Linked DNA regions of Homo sapiens: region 2 is linked to region 1. The links are contacts of gene promoters, found by promoter capture Hi-C in blood cells and fetal thymus (Javierre and others, 2016). All regions are on one chromosome and are shown on one strand. Each heading gives the region's core, a stretch centred on a gene start or on the middle of the fragment in contact. The rest is flanking DNA. Distances are from core to core; before and after follow the strand shown. Region 1 holds the start of PRAC1 (PRAC1 small nuclear protein). Region 2 overlaps CALCOCO2 (calcium binding and coiled-coil domain 2).

Evidence for each region. The method cuts DNA at HindIII sites, captures the fragments that hold promoters and counts their contacts. A CHiCAGO score of 5 or more calls a contact.
Region 2: a fragment that was not itself captured here is called in contact with the fragment with the promoter of PRAC1 in region 1 in 2 of 17 cell types (megakaryocytes and M2 macrophages); the score reaches 7.0 in megakaryocytes.

What each region holds. Positions count from the first base shown.
Region 1 is chr17:48,719,009-48,723,851 of GRCh38, reverse strand. PRAC1 (PRAC1 small nuclear protein) reads left to right here and starts at 1,334. Exons shown (of 2, transcript NM_032391.3): 1 at 1,334-1,534; 2 at 1,953-2,133. The coding sequence starts at 1,460. The coding sequence ends at 2,051. It overlaps PRAC2 (PRAC2 small nuclear protein), which reads right to left and starts at 667. Exons shown (of 2, transcript NM_001282275.2): 1 at 539-667. RefSeq lists enhancers at 358-873, 874-1,388. The HindIII fragment of the contact is 8,116 bases long and covers 1-4,843 here.
Region 2 is chr17:48,863,732-48,868,574 of GRCh38, reverse strand. CALCOCO2 (calcium binding and coiled-coil domain 2) reads right to left here. Exons shown (of 13, transcript NM_005831.5): 13 at 3,330-4,843. Among named protein-coding and RNA genes, the nearest start is that of ATP5MC1, 27 kb to the left of the region's middle. The HindIII fragment of the contact is 6,231 bases long and covers 1-4,843 here.

The DNA.
Region 1 (4,843 bases), core at 85-2,584:
TTCTAACTCCAAAGCAAGTGGATTTTATTAGGCCTCCAGAAGCCGAATAAGGGAGTAGTGGCGCAATGCGTAGAAACTACCTCCGGAAGCTCTTTTTGAATCTCGGTTCCAGCACCCGCAACGCAGAGCGCGAACCTGAGGCTCCATCTTTCGGGTTTTACTCCGGCTGGCTAGCGCTTCCGGGAACCCTGCGAGGCCGCCGCCAGCCGAGAATCCGCCCCGCCTTCCCTGCAGGCGATCCCTACTCCAAATAGTAGTTCCCGGGCCGGAAGCTGGAAAGCCCTCGAAGCAGGAAAAAGCCTCATCCAGGCCCCCCAGTTCTCGGGAGCAGCTCCAGCTTTCCTTCCCCAACCTAGAGCAAACTTCTCTTCCCTGCAGCTCCCCTCCCCCCCTTCATTAAAGTTATATTGAAGGTGCTAAGTGCTGCACTCTAATTGGGTTTCCTTCAGGGGAGACCCTGTGCCCCCCGGCCCCAACCCGTCCTGTCTAATAGAAATCCCCGAGCTGCAACCGCGAATTAAATAGATGAACTCGTTACCGTAAACTTGCAATAAAGCCCGGAGGCGACTGCTGCGGAGGGGGCAAAAGAAGGTTTCGTTGTTTTTGAAATTTATACCATTCTCACCCTCCCGAACAGTCGCTCTCCAGGGAAGAGGGGAGAAAGCTCGGGAGCGGCCCCGGGCCTCTAGCCCAAAAGCAGGACACCCCGCCCCTCCCCCCAGGCACTGGCCTGGGCCTGAGACAGATTTAAAACATCCAATGAGGAACCGATGCCAGCCTTTCTTCCTCTCTCCCTACCAGTTAGTTCTGTGTAGAGGGGATGAGGGGGAGGGGACGAAGTGGTCGGGGGAGAGTGAGGGAAAGAATTCCACCATTACCTTCTCTCCTCCCCTAAACTGCCCCCGAACTGGGAGGTGCACAGGGGGCAGCAAAAGAGTTTAATCGCCCCTAGAATAATGCTGGCGCCCAGCCTGGGGGGAGGGTCAGGGACTTTGCCATTGAACTTGAAGTTCCAGGCTGGTGGTCTCCACCGCCCCCGCCCCCATTTTCCTAAAAGTTTTATGGGAAGAGGGAGGAAGGTGAGGGGAAGAGAGGACTTCTCTGGCCTTGGGAAAGAGGGAGGAAGCCAATCAGGGGAGGAAGGGCCACAGCAACCAGGAGGTCCAGGGAGATTCGGAGGTTTGCGGGGAGGCGAGGAGGCTGCTGGGAGGAGACACTCCAGCTTTCGCCCCTACTTGCAGCTATGAGGTGGGGAGCCACCAACCGCAGGCCTTCTTACTGAGCCCCGCCCCAGACTCTACAGGGAGAGGGGCACCCAGTGCTGTGCTCCCGTCCTTCCTCTCCTAGCCTAAGGCGTGCAAACAGAGCGCCACTGGGAGGCTGAAACCTTTAGGCCGATGCTTGCTTGCAAGGTCAGGCAAGCTGGATTCTGGTCCCCACCTTTGCAGAGAGAACAGCGATGTTGTGCGCCCATTTCTCAGATCAAGGACCGGCCCATCTTACTACCTCCAAGAGTGCTTTTCTCTCTAATAAGGTAAACTGATCGGTGGGCCAAGGGCGTTATCGACGGATCGCTCAGTATGGTAGCTGCATCAGGAGGCCCTGGGAGAGGGTCTCCCAGGAATTTGGGAGCCTTCAGAAGTTTTGGGAAACAAGGGAAGGGTGAGCAGCAGGCTTTCACCGATACCACCTGGCGGGAGCACCTACTCGCGGTTCCTGGAGAGACCGGCAGCCGCCCTGGGCAGAAAGGGACAAAGAAAATGTTTCGCAGCACGCGGGACCTGCAGGACCTAGGCGGGGGAGAGGCTTGGGAGTGGGAACTAGCACCCGCTGTAAGGTCTGCCATAAGACTTAATGTTTGTCTCCAATGGGATGGAGTCCTGGCATAAGCAAAATTAATATTGATAACGTTATTATTATTTAAAATTTGTAAATATTGTAAAATATTTTAGAAAACATCTACTTTGAAACATCTACTGGGCGAGACCAGGAGTGATGGCTCAGCCTGTAATTCTGGAATTTCGGGAGGCCGAGGCAGGAAGATTCCTTGAGCACAGGAGTTCCAGACCAGCCTGGGCAATGTAGCAAGACGCTGTCTCTATTTATACAATAAAATTTTTTTAAAAAAGGAAACTGGGTGAAAGTTAACTGTGATTATAACAATTTTTCTTTTTTAAACTAACTCATCCTTAAGGCAAAAGCTCTGGGCCTTAAAAAAATAAAAACGGGCCAGGCATAGTGGCTCATGGCTGTAATCCCAGCACTTTGGGAGGCTGAAGTGGGCAGATAACTTGAGGCCAAGAGTTTGAGATCAGCCTGGCCAACATAGTGAAAACTGTCTCTACTAAAAATACAACAATTAGCTGGGCATGGTGGCTCACACCTGTAATTCCAGCTACTCAAGAGGCTGAAGCACAAGAATTGCTCGAACCTGGGAGGTGGAGGTTGCAGTGAGCTGAGATTATGCCATTGCACTCCAGCCTATGTGACAGAGTGAGACTCTGTGACAAATAATAATAATAATAATAATTGCACCTTTTTCTCTGGGCCCCTGGCTTCCTTATTCCCTTTCCTGCACCCTCTCAGAAGCTCTGCCTTGCCAAGTGTGGGATCAATGCCACAGCAGGCATGTGTGCGCACAGGGGCTCTGGGTCCAGTACAGAAGCAGGCTGGGGACCACATGCTCACATCTTCAGCCAACCACTGATATTGCCAAGTCATTGGTCTTGGGGTGGGCACAGTAATCCACAAAAACACTCAGGACTCACCTAACTCTCTTCTCCCCACAGCTGGCTCCTTCCCTGCCAGTTCCCCCTCCCATAATGACAAAACCCACAATTGAGTGAGCACTTTATAACCTAAAGAAATTGAAACTAAGAGGGTAAGTTACTTGATCTGGGTCCCAAAACAGGAGCGCTTAACCTCTACCACCAACTGAAAAAATAGAAAGCCCAGGGACTCCTCTATTGTCAACATACCTCTCCCTGCAAGGCCCTTCAGACACTAACAAGCACCTGCTTCCATCCGGAGTCACCCAGCTGAGATCACACAGGTGCACCCAAACACCCTAGACCCAGCCCCTCCTCAGGCACTGGACAGATCTGCATATATGCAAACAGGGGATTAAACACGTGTGGACATTTTTGTCAACCAACTACTCATTAATTGAGTATGCAAAATCTTCCACTAGGGGTGGAAGACAGGAGGAAAGAGTTGGAAATATGCTCTCCCTTCCCACCAGGCCTGACTCCTATGCTGGTAAATCTTGGGTCTGCAGCTTCCCCATATGTGACCTGAGGCCAGAGGATTTTATTCCATGACCAAATGACTACAATCAGAACAAATGGGGAACAGGACGGGGAACAGGGAAAGAGAAAGATACACACACACACAGACAAGCAAGGCTTCTGGGAGTCTTCCCTGGAGAAGATGCTTGGAATATCAAATCCGGGAGGGAAGATGTGAACAAAACTCGGAGGAGGCCAGAAAATGCAGGTCGCGGTGGATAGAAGGACGGTGCGGATCCTTACTCCGGGTGAGCTAGAGCTGGCCAGGCAGAGAGCAGGGGCATCTCACAGGGTCCTGGACCCCCAGGCGAAGCCTGGGCAGTAATCAGACGTCCCCTTGCCCACTCAGAGGCTGATCGCCTTACCCTCATCCAGGCGGGCACACACCCGCACTACTCGCCAAACTCCGCAGACCCCAGGCTGAGGGCAGAGAGGCAGCTCTTGGTCTGCGGGGTCCGTACCCATCCTGTGGGCCCTCAGCTCCCCATCTCTAGGTGGGCCCAGCCCGTCGCCCCCGCCCGAGACCTGCGTCCAGCCTTTGTCATGTTGATGGCTGAAGCTCGCCGCACCTCCCATTCCAGGCAGGTTTTTGTCATTGAACTTGAGTCAGGCTATAAACATTCCTTCACCCCTCCGGAGCCAGGCCGAGACGCGGAGGGGTGGAGGGGAAGGGCGGAGGGGGCTGTGGAGCGACCCGAAACGCGAGAAACCGGGCCTCGCGCGGCTTTATCAAAGAGCTTCCAATCCTTGCCTTCCGGGGAACACCCGCCGGGCCTGCAGCTAAAAGCCGGATTCTTGAGGCCATCCGGCAAGTCAGGCCAATGTTTTGGTCGGGATCGACATGGTGTAACTTTTTCTGTTTTCCTCCTTGGCATTTCATGTTCGTTTACCTTATTCTAGGCAGTCTAATCCTTAATTTATTTTAATAATCAGGATAAACAGATGCGTACACAAACGAATACTAGCTAAGGCCGATGATTTATTAGAGAATGTTCGAGTCGGTCGTAACGAGGCCGTCGCCGCTCGGTTTTACAAGCGCCCCTCCCTCGGCGGGGTTATCCGGGGGGCTGTCGCCCGCCGCGCTATCCGATCCCTGGCTGCTACCAGGGCGGCTGCCGAGCCCCGCGGGTTTCCCAGCTGCCTTCCCAGGACCTGGAAACTTAAACTTCGCAAATGGGGCGTCTCCCTACTCGGTGGCGGAGGAAATAGCGGCCTGGAGAGCCATCCGACCCGGGAAACCGGCGCGTCTTTCCAGGCGACCCGCCGACTGCGGAGGCTGCGAGGAGCGGCCTGCTCAGACGGTAGTAGTGCTGCGTGTGCGTGTGTGTGTGTGTGTGTGTGTGTGTGTGTGTTTGTGTGCGAGCGCGTGCGAGTGTGTTTAAAGAATTCAGGATCCTGGAGCAAGGGAAGATCAAACACTCGATCTCCGGGTCTCTCCCTGGCTCGGTAACATCCAGTCGAAGGTGAACAGGGCGCGCCGGCGCGCGGGGAGGCGCAGGGGCCACTCCGTCTGGCGTGGGGCGCTTCGAGCGCAGGGCTTCCTTTCCAGCCGGGAG
Region 2 (4,843 bases), core at 593-3,092, 140 kb before region 1:
CTCTAGTCTGGGTAACAGAGTGAGACTTTGTTTCAAAAAAAACAGTATGTAACTTGATGGTTTTTAGTATATTTGGTCGTGTAACCATCTCCACAATGAAGTTTAGAACATTTTCTTTATCCTCCCAAAAGAAACTCCATACCTATTGGCAGTCACTCTCCATTTCCCCCCAACCCCTAGCCCTAGGAAACCAATCTATTTTGTTACTACAAATTTGCCTATTCTGGACATTTCAAATAAATGGAATCATACAATAATGTGGTCTTTTTGACTGGCTTTTTTCACCTGGCATAATTTCAAGGCTCATCCATATTGCAACATATATGACTACTTCCTGTTTATTGACAAATAATATCCCATTGTATGGATACACCATATTTTATTTATCCATTCATCAGCTGATAGACATTTGGATTGTTTCCACCTTTAGCAAGTTATTTCTGCATGTTTCAGCTTATTCATCCATAAAAATGAGTTAATAGCTGCCTTGTCTTGGAGGATTATGAGAGGCACACAGGGAATATGTGAAATACATTCTAAACTATAAAGCGGTACAAGAATGTAATGATATTTTATTACTTTAATTTTTTTTAGAGATAGGGTCTCAACTCTCTGGCCCAAGCTGGAGTGCAATGGTGCAATCATGGCTCACTGCAGCCTCAACCTCCTGGGCTCAAGGGATCCTCTTGCCTCAGCCTCCCCTGTAGCTGAGGCTACAGGTGCATGCCACCATACCTAGCTTATTTATTTATTATTTATTTATTTTGGAGAGACGAGGTCTTGCTATGTTGACCAGGCTGGTCTCCAACTCCTGGCCTCAAACAATACCAGCACGGGGTATTATAGGTGTGAGCCATCACACTGGCCTAAAGACTTTTTTTTTGAGATGGAGTCTCACTTTATCATCCAGGCTGGAGTACTGTGGCACGATCTCAGCTCACTGCACCCTCAACCTCAGCCTCCCAAGTACCTGGGATTACAAGCATGCCCCACTACACCCAGCTATTTTTTTTTTTTGAGACAGTCTCGCTCTGTCGCCCAGGCTGGATTGCAGTGGCACGATCTCGGCTCACTGCAACCTCTGCCTCCTGGGTTCAAGTGATTCTCCTGCCTCAGCCTCCTGAGTAGCCCAGACTACAGGCACCCACCACCACGCCTGGCTAATTTTTGTATTTTTTTTTTTTTAGTAGAGACGGGGTTTCACCATATTGGCCAGGCTGGACCGAAACTCCTGACCTTATGATCCACCCGCCTCGGCCTCCCGAAGAGTTGGGATTACAGGCGTGAGCCAGCACTCCTGGCTAATTTTTCATATTTTTAGTAGAGATGGGGTTTCAACATGTTGGCCAGGCTGGTCTTGAACTCCTGACCTCAGGTGATCTGCCCACCTCGGCCTCCTAAAGTGATGGGATTACAGATGTGAGCCACCATGACTGGCCCTAAAAACTTTTTTTTTTTTTTTTTTTGAGATGGAGTCTTGCTCTTTCACCCAGGCTGGAGTGCAGTGGTGCGATCTCGGCTCACTGTAACCTCCACTTCCTGGGTTCAAGCGATTCTCCTGCCTCAGCCTCCCGAGTAGCTGGGATTACAGGAGCCCGCCACCATGCCTGGCTAGTTTTTGAATTTTTAGTAGAGATGGGGTTTCACCACGTTGGCCAGGCTGGTCTCGAACTCCTGATCTCGTGATACACCTGCCTCAGCCTCCCAAAGTGCTGGGATTATGGGCATGAGCCACTGCACTCGGCCAAGACTTTTTTTTTTTTTTTTTTTTTTTTTGAGACAGAGTCTCACCTTGTCTCCCAGGCTGGAGTGCAGTGGTGCGATCTTGGCTCACTGCAAGCTCCACCTCCCGGGTTCACGCCATTCTCCTGCCTCAGCCTCCCGAGTAGCTGGGACTACAGGTGCCTGCCACCAAGCCCCGCTAATTTTTTGCATTTTTAGTAGAGATGGGGTTTCACCATGTTAGCCAGGATGGTCTCGATCTCCTGACCTCGTGATCTGCCCACCTTGGCCTCCCAAAGTGCTGGGATTACAGGCGTGAGCACCGACTAAGACTTTTGAATATTTATATGAGAGCAGCTAAGGAAAGCACTGGGGCCAGTGTAACTTCACTGAGCTTATGGCCTATTGTTGGTTAACTCAGGGCAATCAGATGAATATCTCTTTGGATCTTGTCTCTATGTAGAGTCCATTTTGCTTTTTTCCCAGGTAATGGACTGCATCCACATTTCATCCACATTTGTTCCTAGGAGACCAGGTTAGAGTATGCTTACCTCAGTGTAAGCCACTGCCACCGTAGAAAATCAAATCACAGGAGAATGATATTTGAACATCAAGGCAGTCACATTTCATCCCAATTTTTAGCAAGACCAGGGAAAAGAGCTGAAGCTATAGGTGTTAAGGCCTAGGTTTACCAAATATCTTGCCAACTCTCTCTCTCTTTTTTTTTTTTTTTGAGACAGAGTCTTGCTCTGTCGCTCAGGCTGGAGTAAAGTGGTGCGATCTTAGCTCACTGCAACCTCCGCCTCCCGGGTTCAAGCAATTCTCTGCCTCAGCCTCCCGAGTAGCTGGGATTACAGGTGCCTGCTGCCACACCTGGCTAATTTTTTGTAGTTTTAGTAGAGATGGGGTTTCACCATGTTGGCCAGGCTGGTCTTGAACTCCTGACCTCGTGATCCACCCGCCTCGGCCTCACAAAGTGCTGGGATTACAGGCATGAGCCACCGTGCCCGGCCTCCTTTTTTTAAGTTAGCTTTCTTTCACACTCACATGTGCCAGGGTGACTTTATTCTCCCTTCACTGCCCATCCAGTAAGCATGCTAAGGTAATGCAAAAACATTTTAATATTAGACCAAGAGAAAAGAAATTAGGAAGGAAAACCTGTTGCCATAACAAGTACAAAGATTCAAAAATTCAACTCAGATAACTATTTGCTCTCATAACTTCCTATTTTTTGCAGGTATTTTACAGCTATATAATGTGTGGGTGCGAGGGGGATGGAGGAAGGCCAGGGTGGGCAGTGGGTTATATAAGAACTATTGTTGGCTGGGCGCAGTGGCTCATGCCTGTAATCCCAGCACTTTGGGAGGCCGAGGCCGGTGGATCATGAGGTCAGGAGATCGAGACCATCCTGGCTAACGCGGTGAAACCCCGTCTCTACTAAAAGTACAAAAAATTAGCCGGGAGCGGTGGCGGGCGCCTGTAGTCCCAGCTACTCGGGAGGCTGAGGCAGGACAATGGTGTGAACTCGGGAGGCGGAGCTTGCAGTGAGCGCCTACTGCACTCTAGCCTGGGTGACAGAGTGAAACTCTGTCTCAAAAAAAAGAACTATTGTTTACTACTAGTGGCTGCCTAGAGCATAATTTCCCCCTTCAAAGCCTTGGTAAGAGCAGCTGGGGATAATGAACAGTGGTTAAAGATGCTTTGTTTTACACCCAGCAAAAAGGGTCATTAACACCTCAACTGGTTTTTTTACCAAGCCCTGTGGAAGGGCTCCTGCTGCTGTTGACAATCATGGTAACCCTCGGGGTAGCAGGGGCAAAGGGGTGGGTAATTCACCAGAAAATGGTATTCACTGATTTGGATTATGTGCACCACTGTTCCTCTCCATTCATGTACTTAATTAAGAGCTGACTGGTACAAAATAAATGAAACTGCAATTCTTCACTGGATCTGGGGAGCAACAGAAATTCTGTAGGGAGGGTATGTGCCAGAAAAACTCCTTTATTACCATCTCCCTATTACATTTCTATTCTAGGGTTAGTGTTAATCTCAGGTCTTATTCTTAAGACAGCAAAAGGCTTGGAGAAGTAGTGTAAGTTTCATCTTCATTTTATCAAGGATGAAATCAAAGCAAGGAGCTGTGACTAGGACAATACAGTTAGTCTAGGGCATAACTCCCAACCACATTAGGGAAAGCCCAGTAGGAACACAGAGCTATAGTTGGCTCAACCCTTATTCATGACATCGTGTTTCACATCATTCAAAAGTTTTTGTGGAAGTCTCTGTAGTGACCACCTGATACTGCCTGGGAGTTATTTCCATTTGTTCAGTCCCTGAGGGGATAGAAAATGGAATTATTACTTTCTTATAGTTCAATTAGGCAAATTTGGATAGAGCGCATTGAACTTAGTTCACAAAGGGTGCGAAAATCCACACTGCTCCTTTTAAAAAAAATGCATGGAAAGTTACAGCAAGAAGTCAGGGCCTCGGGCCCAGCACAGTGGCTCACGCTTGTAATCCCAGCACTTTGGACGGCTGAAGTGGACAGATCACGTGAGGCCAGGAGTTCGAGACCAGCCTGGCCAACATAGTGAAACCCTGTCTCTACTAAAAACACAAAAATTAGCTGGGCATTGCGGCACACACCTGTAATCCCAGCTACTTGGGAGGCTAAGGCATGAGAATCGCTTGAACCTGGGAGGCAGAGGCTGTAGTGAGTCAACTGCGCCATTGCACGCCAGCCTGGGTGACAGAGAGAGACTGTTTCAAAAAAAAAAAAAAAAAAAGAAAGAAAGCAAGCCAGGGCCTTGGATTTCACAAACTAATGTTTCATCACCTCCTTCCCCACCTCAAGATAACTGCCAGGACACTCTTTTTTATTTAATCTTAAGACAGGTGAAGAGAAATCATTGGCGGGGTCTGCCCTTCCCATAGCCCTTTTGATCACAATTTTCCCATGAGCTTCAAAACAGAAGACCATAAATTGAAGGTTTATTTTAAATTACCTAAGTCCCTGAAATAGAAGAGTAATTTATTTTTAGTATTAAAGAGATTAACAAGTTGTCTCATTATTCTGATTTACCCATATTCAAAACTCACCTACTCAGAAAACTGCAAACCC